3 separate regions of the Homo sapiens genome follow, and regions 1 and 3 are each linked to region 2. The links are contacts of gene promoters, found by promoter capture Hi-C in blood cells and fetal thymus (Javierre and others, 2016). All regions are on one chromosome and are shown on one strand. The core of a region is centred on a gene start or on the middle of the fragment in contact, and the rest is flanking DNA. Distances in the headings are between cores, read along the strand shown. Region 1 has its middle 14 kb from the start of UNC13A. Region 2 holds the start of NXNL1 (nucleoredoxin like 1). Region 3 overlaps UNC13A (unc-13 homolog A).

Region 1 (3,120 bases), core at 214-2,713, 240 kb before region 2:
CTCCCCTGATGTGTGACGTTGGGTGAGCAACTTAACGTTGTTGTTCTCAGTTTCCCCATCTGCAAACTCTATTATGGGGATTAAATGAGTGCTTGTAGAGTTCTGTTCCATGTCTGGCACACTGCAGGCACATGTCAAATAAGTTAACCTCCGTCAGAGGGTCACAGAGGGTCCCTGGTTCCCCTCTGCTCCCAGCCCTGGGATGGCCTAATGGCTTATGCTGCCCCCAGCTGGCCACTCTGGGAACTTTGGGCTGAGGCCCCCTCTCTGAGTCCGGAACCTCGCCTCCATTGGGTCTGAACCTATTACGTTCCTTTGTCTGCCTTTATTTCCTGCCTCCGTCTCCTCCTCTTGACCAATCCAATCACTTTTGTTTATGATCCATCCAATCCCATCCAACCACTCCAGGCCCATCCAGTCATTTTGCAGCCTAGTGTTATTTCCACCCTACATCCCTGCAGGGCAGGGCCTGGAACTTTCAAAAGATTGATGTTGCCTTTGTCCCATTTAATTCTCTGGGAAACCATTATTATTAATTATTATTATTATTATCTGTTGTCGTTGTTATTGTTGTTGTTTTTGAGACAGAGCCTCACTCTGTTGCCCAGGCTGGAGTACAGTGGCGCGATCTCGGCTCACTGCAGCCTCTGGCTCCTGGGTTCAAGCGATTCCCCTGCCTCAGCCTCCCGAGTAGCTGGGATTACAGGCGCCCGCCACCACGCCCAGCTGATTTTTAAACTTTTAGTAGAGATAGGGTTTCACCATGTTGGCCAGGCTGGTTTTGAACTCCTGACCTCAGGTGATCTGCCCGCCTTGGCCTCCCAAAGTGCTGGGATTACAGACTTGAGCCACCGCACCTGGCAGAAACCATTATTTTTTATCCTCATTTTATAGGCGATAAGCCAAGTTTGCCCTCATCGATTTCTCTGCCCCAGGCAGCCTGACAGCTACAATTAAGTTCAATAAGAGGTCCAATCTCAGAGCCTTTGCACACACCCTGCCCTCGGCCAGGAATGTCCTTCCTCCAATTCCCTGTGCTGAGCGAGATCCTCCTTGCTCGCTGGACCCTTGACCTTGGCAAAGAAGGAGCCGCAGAGAAAAAAGGGCAAGAGAAGATACAGACAGCACCGGCATAATTAAGTGGAGGGATGAGAAGGCTCAAATCAATAGCTTTGGAATTAGCTGAGCTGTTGGCTGGAAGAAAATGGGGCACCAGAGCTTAAAAATTAATTGGATCCGAGTGCTCAATGGTGAACGTTGAAATGCCCCTTTCATCATTATGATTATTATCATCATCATTATTATTATTTTGAGATGGGGTCTCACTCTGTTGCACCCAGGCTGAAGTGCAGTGGCGTGATCTCGGCTCACTGCAGCCTCTGCCTTTGAGGTTCAAGTGATTCTCCTGCTTCAGCCTCCCAAGTAGCTGGGACTGACTACAGGCAGGCGCCACCACGCCTAGCTAATTTTTTTTTGTATTTTTAGTAGAGACGGGGTTTCACCATGTTGACCAGACTGGTCTGCAGCTCCTGACCTCAGGTGATCCGTCCACCTTGGCCTCCCAAAGTGCTGGGATTACAGGCGTGAGCCACCACACCTAACAGAAACGTCCCCTTTCAGATCAGCGCGAGATGGGCAAGGGTGTGGATCCAAACTACGTTCATTGAATGAATGAACGATTACACAGACGTCTGCATTGCAGAAACGGCCTATTCTGAGAGTTACTCCAGACCCACTTCACGTCCCAGCCTTGTCCCCCTCCCCCGCCCCGCTGCCTGCTGCCCCAAACTCTCAGGAACTCAGTCTCCCCATCTATAAATGAGCACTTGACTGTAATCCCAGCACTTTGGGAGGCCGAGGCGGGTGGATCACGAGGTCAGGAGATTGAGACCATCCTAGCCAACACGGTGAAACCCCATCTCTACTAAAATACAAAAAAAAAAAAAAAAAAATTAGCTGGGCATGGTAGTCCCAGCTACTCGGGAGGCTGAGGCAGGGGAATTGCTTGAACCCAGGAGGCAGAGGTTGCAGTGAGCCAAGATTGCGCCACTGCACTCCAGCCTAGTGACAGAGTGATACTCCATCTCAAATAATAAATAAATAAATAAATAAATAAATAAATAAATAGGCACTTGAGAGAAGAAGAGGAGCACCTATGGTAAGCCCAAGGACACTGAATTCCATGTTCCCTGCAGGTAGCATTCCTGCTGACCTGATAACAGGGACTGGCGTTGGGCATGGACAGAGTTGTAAAGGGTGGACCCCTGGGTGTGATGTCTTGGCTTTGATAGTCCTGGAAGAGCAGGGTGTCCCTTGACCTTGTATCTATGCCCTTGCCCCAAATAGCCACACCTCATTGCGTGTTGTCGACTATCCCATTGGTGTCTCCAGCCTGCATCTCCCCAGAGCTCCAGGCCTCAGTATCCAATGGCATTGGATATTTCCACTGAGTGCCTTGCAGGCATTTCACACTCACAAGGCCAAAACCTGGCTCTTAGAATAGTTACTCGCCCTGAGATCTGCCCCTTCTCCATCCTGTTGGTGCCTCCACTATCACACAGTAGCCTGGGTCCTGATTCCTGGATACGCTCTTTATTTTATTTTATTTTATTTTTTTTGAGATGGAGTCTTGCTCTGTTGCCCAGGCTGGAGTGCAGTGGCGCCATCTCGGCTCACTGCAAGCTCCACCTCCCAGGCTCATGCCATTTTCCCACCTCAGCCTCGTGAGTAGCTGGGACTACAGGCGCCCGCCACCATGCCTGGCTAATTGTTTGTATTTTTAGTAGAGACGGGGTTTCACTGTGTTAGCCAGGATGGTCTCGATCTCCTGACCTCGTGATCCACCTGCCTCGGCCTCCCAAAGTGCTGGGATTACAAGCGTGAGCCACCGCGCCCGGCCCTCTTTATTTTATTTTTTTAAGAGACAGGGTCAGCCGAGCGTGGTAGCTCATGCCTGTAATCCTAGCACCTTGGGAGGCTGAGGCAGGCAGATCACTTGAGGTCAAGAGTTCAAAACCAGCCTGGCCAACATGGTGAAAACCTGTCTCTACTAAAAATACAAAAAACTAGTGGGGCGTGGTGGCGGGTGCCTGTAATCCCAGCTACTCAGGAGGCTGAGGT
Region 2 (3,243 bases), core at 413-2,912:
CTCACTCTATCCCCCAGGTTGGAGTGCAGTGGGACAATCTTGTCTCACTGCAGCCTCCGCCTCTTGGGTTCAAGCAATTCTCCTCCCTCAGCCTCCCAAGTAGCTGGGATTACAGGCATGCACCACCACGCCTGGCTAATTTTTGCTTTTTTTTTTTTGAGATGTAGTCTCGCTCTGTTGCCCAGGCTGGATGGAGTGCAGTGGTGCAATCTCAGCTCACTGCAACCTCTGCCTCCCAGGCTCAAGCAGTTCTCCTGCCTTAGCCTCCCGAGTAGCTGGGATTACAGGCATGTGCCATCACGAGCCGCTAATTTTTGTATTTTCAGTAGAGATGGGGTTTCACCATGTTGGCCAGGCTGGTTTCGAACTCCTGACCTCAGGTGATCCGCCTGCCTCAGCCTCCCAAAGCGCTGGGATTACAGGCATGAGCCACCACACCCGGTCTAATTTTTGCTTTTTTTTTTTTTTTGAGACGGAATCTCACTCTGTCACCCAGGCTGGAGTGCAGTGGCGCGGTCTCGGCTCACTGCAAGCTCCACCTCCCGGGTTCACGCCATTCTCCTGCCTCAGCCTCCCGAGTAGCTGGGACTACAGGTGCCCGCCACCACACCCGGCTAATTTTTTTTGTACTTTTAGTAGAGACGGGGTTTCACTGTGTTAGTCAGGATGGTCTCGATCTCCTGACCTTGTGATCCACCTGCCTCAGCCTCCCAAAGTGCTGGGATTACAGGCGTGAGCCACCACACCTGGCCAATTTTTGCATTTTTAGTAGAGATGGGGTTTCTCCATGTTGGCCAGACTGGTCTCGAACTCCTGACTTCAGGTGATCCACCCACCTTGACCTCCCAAAGCTTTGGGATTACAGGCGTGAGCCACCGTGCCCAGCCTATTTTTTATTTTTAGACACTAGGTCTTGCTCTGTCACCCAGGATGGAGTGCAGTAGTGCAGTCATTGTAGCCTCAACCTCCCAGGCTCAAGTGATCCTTCCATCTCAGCTGAGTAGCTGGGACTACAGGCTCATGACAACACCATGCCCAGCTAAGTTTTTAATTTTTTCATAGAGATGGGGTCTCACACTGTTGCCCAAGCTGCTCTCAAACTCCTGGTCTCAGGTGATCCTCCTGCCTCAGCCTCCCAAAGTGCTGAGATTACAGGCGTGAGTCACTGTCTGCTACATGGTTTTTTGGTTTTTTTTCTTTCTTTCTTTCTTTTTTTTTCTGAGATGGAGTCTCGCTCTGTCGCCCAGGCTGGAGTGCAGTGGCACAATCTCAGCTCACTGCAACCTCCGCCTCCTGGCTTCAAGCGATTCTCCTGCCTCGGCTGCCCAAGTAGCTGGGATTACAGGTGCCCACCACCACGCCTGGCTAATTTTTTTATTTTTTAGTACAGACAGGGTTTCACCATGTTGGCCAGGCTGGTCTCAAACTCCTGACCTCAGATGATCCTCCCACCTCTGCCTCTCAAAGTGCTGGGATCACAGGCGTGAGCCACCGTGCCCATCTGTTACGTGTTTTCTTAATGCGTTTGCGGCTCTCTCCTGAGAAGGGCCACACAGAGAGCCCTGCCCCCCGCCCTTAGAGGCCCCTCAGGTCAAGGTTTAGGCAGATTAGTGAAGTCCTAAGCTGGTTTTCTAAAGATTTCTATTTCTGGGAGAGGAGCCAGTCAGCAGACCGGGGACCACACGCCGCGCTGTCCCCAGCACCCAACCCAGGTTACCATGGCCTCCCTGTTCTCTGGCCGCATCCTGATCCGCAACAATAGCGACCAGGACGAGCTGGATACGGAGGCTGAGGTCAGTCGCAGGCTGGAGAACCGGCTGGTGCTGCTGTTCTTTGGTGCTGGGGCTTGTCCACAGTGCCAGGCCTTCGTGCCCATCCTCAAGGACTTCTTCGTGCGGCTCACAGATGAGTTCTATGTACTGCGGGCGGCTCAGCTGGCCCTGGTGTACGTGTCCCAGGACTCCACGGAGGAGCAGCAGGACCTGTTCCTCAAGGACATGCCAAAGAAATGGCTTTTCCTGCCCTTTGAGGATGATCTGAGGAGGTGAGGAGGGGCAGGGAGGGCTTCCTGGAGGAGGGGGCATGTTCGCTGAAAGTGAAGCATCCATTCTAACTAGAGTGAATGAGCAGCCCCTGTGTGCCAGTCCATATACTGGGAACTAGGGGGTACAGACAGGGGTGCCCACTTCCACATGCTGGCTTCCATGCCACCCCAGGGAGCTTAGAGCCGAGTGAGAGGAACAGATGCAAAAGACAGAATCAACTATGTAATAGCAAGGCCGGGCATGGTGGCTTAACCCTGTAATCCCAGGACTTTGGCAGGCCGAGGTGGGCAGATCACCTGAGGTCGGGAGTTTGAGACAAGCCTGGTCAACATAGTGAAACCCTGTCTCTACTAAAAATACAAAAATTATCCAGGCGTGGTGGTGGGCGCCTGTAATCCCAGCTGCTTGGGAGGCTGAGGCAGGAGAATCGTTTGAAACTGGGAGGCAGATGCTGCAGTGAGGTAAGATCGTGCCACTGCCCTCCAGCCTGGGTGACAGAGGGAGACTCTGTCTAAAAAATCAAAAAACAAATATATAATAGCGAATTGCAGTAGTGCTCAGAGGACAAAGCTAGGCCACAAAGTGGAAATACAATGAGGGAAACCTTGGTGAGGTTCCGGGGTCAGAGGATGCTTCCCCGAAAAAGTGGCTTTAAAGAGAGACCCCTAGCTGGGCACGGTGGCTCATGCCTGTAGTCCTAGCCACCTGGGAGGCTATGGTAAGAGGATAACTGGAGCCTAGAGTTTGAGGCTGCAGTGAGCTATGATCGCACCACTGCACTCCAGCCAGGGCAATACAGGTAGACCCTGTCTCTTAAAAAAGTAAGGCCAGGTACGGTGGCTCACACCTGTAAATCTAGCACTTTGGGAGGCCAAGGTGAGCAGATCACCTGAGGTCAGGAGTTCGAGACTAGCCTGACCAATATGGCAAAACCCTGTCTCTACTAAAAATACAAAAATTAGCCAGGCCTGGTGGCGCACAGCTGTGGTCCCAGCTACTTGCGAGGCTGAGGCAGGAGAATTGCTTGAATCCAGGAGGCGAAAGTTGCAGTGATCCGAGATGGTGCCACTGCACTCCAGCCTGGGCAACAGAGTGAGACTCTGTCTCAAAAATAAAAATAAAAAATAAAAAATGTAATAAATAAATAAATTACAGGGAGACTCCAATGAGAAGAAAGATAGGAGGATGGAGAATGAGG
Region 3 (2,963 bases), core at 134-2,633, 170 kb before region 2:
TGAATGAATGGATAGAGGGATGGATGGATGGGTGGATGGATGAATAGATAGATGGGTAGGTGGAGGGATAGATAGTTGCATGAGTGGGTGAATGAATTGATGAAGGGATGGTTGGATGGGTGGATAATGGGTGGATGGATGAATAGATAGATGGGTACATGGATGGGTGGACAGTTGCATGAGTGGGTGAATGAATGGATGGAAGGATGGATGAATGGATGGAGGAATAGATAAATGAGTTGTTGAATGTATGGGTGGATAGTTGCATGAGTGGATGAATGAATGAATGGAGGGACAAATGGATGAGTGGGTGGAGGCTCAAAGGGAAACAAAGCCTTAGTGCAGAGTCAGTCAGCAGTGGCTATGAGGGAACCTGAACCCAAATCCCTCTACCCTACCCTACACTCCTCTGTGGGGCAGGGAAGGACAAAGCAGCCCATCCCATCTGCCTTCTGCCTGCCAAAGTTTTATACTTCCATGACTTTGCCAGGTTTCCCCAGGAGCTGAATGTGGGTAAAATCAGCGCTGAAGTGATGTGGAATCTGTTTGCCCAAGACATGAAGTACGCCATGGAGGGTGAGTTTCCCACCCCAGTGTTCCCCAGCCTGGCCACACCAGGTGGCTGTACCTCTGTGTCCCCTCCAAGGCTGTGAGCACCCTATAATACCCTCATGCCTGAGTTGGAAATCAGTGATGGCCAGAGTAGGCAGCCTCTCTGCCGAGACAGAGGGTGGCAGACCCTTCCAGCTGTGCCATCCTCTTTGTCCCTGGCCAGAGCACGACAAGCATCGTCTATGCAAGAGTGCCGACTACATGAACCTCCACTTCAAGGTGAAATGGCTCTACAATGAGTATGTGACGGAACTTCCCGCCTTCAAGGACCGCGTGCCTGAGTACCCTGCGTAAGTCCCCTGCCCCAGGCCCAACCCAAGCCAGAACTGTAGCACTGACAGCTAGAAGGAAAGCCAGAGAGGAAGACTGACCTACTTAGGGTTACCTGGGCATCAGGGGCATGGGTGGGGCTTGAATCCAGTGTTCTCCACTCTCAGCCATTGAGCAGTTGACTCCTACAGCCCAGAAAATTCAGTCAACAGCAACAGGAACCATGTGACTTTCTCATTTTATCCTTTTGACAATTCTATGAGTTAAGGTGGGATCATTTTAATTCCTATTTTGCGGAGGAGAAATTGGAGAGTTAAAGATGCCAAATGGCCAGGCATGGTGGCACATGCCTGTAGCCCCGGCAATCTGGGAGACTGAGGCAGGACTTGCTTGAGCCCAGGAGTTCGAGACCAGCCTGGAAAAGATAGTCAGATCCCATCTCTAAAATTAATGAATGGGTCAGGCACAGTGGCTTGTGCCTGTAATCCCAGGACTTTGGGAGGCCGAAGTGGGCAGATCACCTGAGGTCAGGAGTTCGAGACCAGCATAGCCAATAGGGCGAAACCCCAGCTCTACAAAAATACAAAAATTGGCCGGGCGCAGTGGCTCATGCCTGTAATCTCAGCACTTTGGGAGGCCAAGGTGGGTGGATCACCAGAGGTCAGGAGTTTGAGACCGGCCTGGCCAACATGGTGAGACCCTGTCTCTACTAAAAATACAAAAATTAGCCAGGTGTGGTGGCAGATGCCTGTAATCCCAGCTACTTGGGAGGCTGAGGCATGAGAATTGCTTGAACCCAGGAGGCGGAGGTTGCAGTGAGCCGAGATTGCACCACTGGATTCCAGCTGGGGCAACAAAGTGAGACTCCGTCTCAAAAACAAAGAAAAAAATTATCCGGGTGTGATGGCACACACCTGTAGTCCCAGCTACTCGGGAGGCCGAAGCAGGAGGATCGCTTGAACTCAGGAGGCAGAGGTTGCAGTAAGCGGAAATCGTGTCACTGCACTCCAGCCTGGGCGACAGAGTGAGACTCCATTTCAAAAAATAAATAAATATAAAAATAAAATGAATGAGTGAATAAATGCCACATTCCTTGCCCACGGTGACTCCCAGTACATGACAGACCCGAGATTTGAACTCGGGACATCTGATTCCTGGGCTGTGTGTTGGAGGATAGTACGGTGCCGCCGGTTCCTGAGAATTGTGGTGTCGTTCTCTGCTCCCAGCAGCACAGGAGGATGGCTAGTCTTCTGTTGTACAAGAAACGAAAGCTCTGGCTGGATGCGGTGGCTCATTCCTGTAATCCCAACATTTTGGGAGGCCAAGGTGGGAGGATCACTTGAGGCCAGGAGTTCAAGGCCTGCCTGGGCAACACAGGGAAATCCTGTCTCTACAAAGAAGACAAAAAAAAAAATTAGCCGGGCATGGTGGCATGTGCCTGTAGTGCCAGCTATTCGGGAAGCTGAGGTGGGAGGATTGCTTGAACCCAGCAGGTCAAGGCTGCAGTGAGCTGTGATCGCACCACTGCACTTTAGCCTGGGCAACAGAACAAGACCCAGGAAGGAAGGAAGGAAGGAAGAAGGAAGGAAGGAAGGAAGGGAGGGAGGGAGGGAAGGAAGGAAAGGAGGGAGGGAGGGAGGGAGGGAGAAAACAAGAGCTCAGAGAATAAACCCACTTGCCATGGGCAGTTTATCTGAAGAAGGAAGGAAGGAAGGAAGGAAGGAAGGAGGGAGGGAGGGAGGGAAGGATGGACGGAGGACTCAGAGAGGACTCAGAGAATAAACCCACTTGCCATGGGCAGCTTATCTGAACTAGGATTCCCACAGGCCTGGGCCCTGTTGTAAAAGGGGCCACTCAATCTATTTCATGAGCAAAGTAACTGAGGTTCAGTGCAGGAGGCGAGCAGAGGAGCAGCCACTCAAGGCTGCAGGGAGAGCTCCAGGCAGAGCAGGAGCAGCCATAGCTCCACTCGTTAGTGGGTCAGAACCAGGCGGCGCAGAGGTTGAGGAGGACAAGAGGTGGCAGAGCCCCACCCCGGCTCTTCATTCCAGATGGTTTGAACCCTTCGTCATCCAGTGGCT

What was found. Contacts are between HindIII fragments. The CHiCAGO score rates a contact against its expected background, and 5 or more counts as called.
Region 1: a fragment that was not itself captured here is called in contact with the fragment with the promoter of NXNL1 in region 2 in 1 of 17 cell types (M2 macrophages); the score reaches 5.2 in M2 macrophages.
Region 3: a fragment that was not itself captured here is called in contact with the fragment with the promoter of NXNL1 in region 2 in 1 of 17 cell types (M2 macrophages); the score reaches 7.3 in M2 macrophages.

Annotation. Positions count from the first base shown.
Region 1 is chr19:17,701,169-17,704,288 of GRCh38, reverse strand. No RefSeq gene overlaps it. Among named protein-coding and RNA genes, the nearest start is that of UNC13A, 14 kb to the right of the region's middle. RefSeq lists a silencer at 2,703-2,930. The HindIII fragment of the contact is 7,500 bases long and covers 1-3,120 here.
Region 2 is chr19:17,459,345-17,462,587 of GRCh38, reverse strand. NXNL1 (nucleoredoxin like 1) reads left to right here and starts at 1,662. Exons shown (of 2, transcript NM_138454.2): 1 at 1,662-2,044. The coding sequence starts at 1,719. RefSeq lists an enhancer at 1,256-1,756. The HindIII fragment of the contact is 2,658 bases long and covers 854-3,243 here.
Region 3 is chr19:17,630,721-17,633,683 of GRCh38, reverse strand. UNC13A (unc-13 homolog A) reads left to right here. Exons shown (of 44, transcript NM_001080421.3): 27 at 491-576; 28 at 776-902; 29 at 2,934-2,963. Among named protein-coding and RNA genes, the nearest start is that of UNC13A, 56 kb to the left of the region's middle. The HindIII fragment of the contact is 8,105 bases long and covers 1-2,963 here.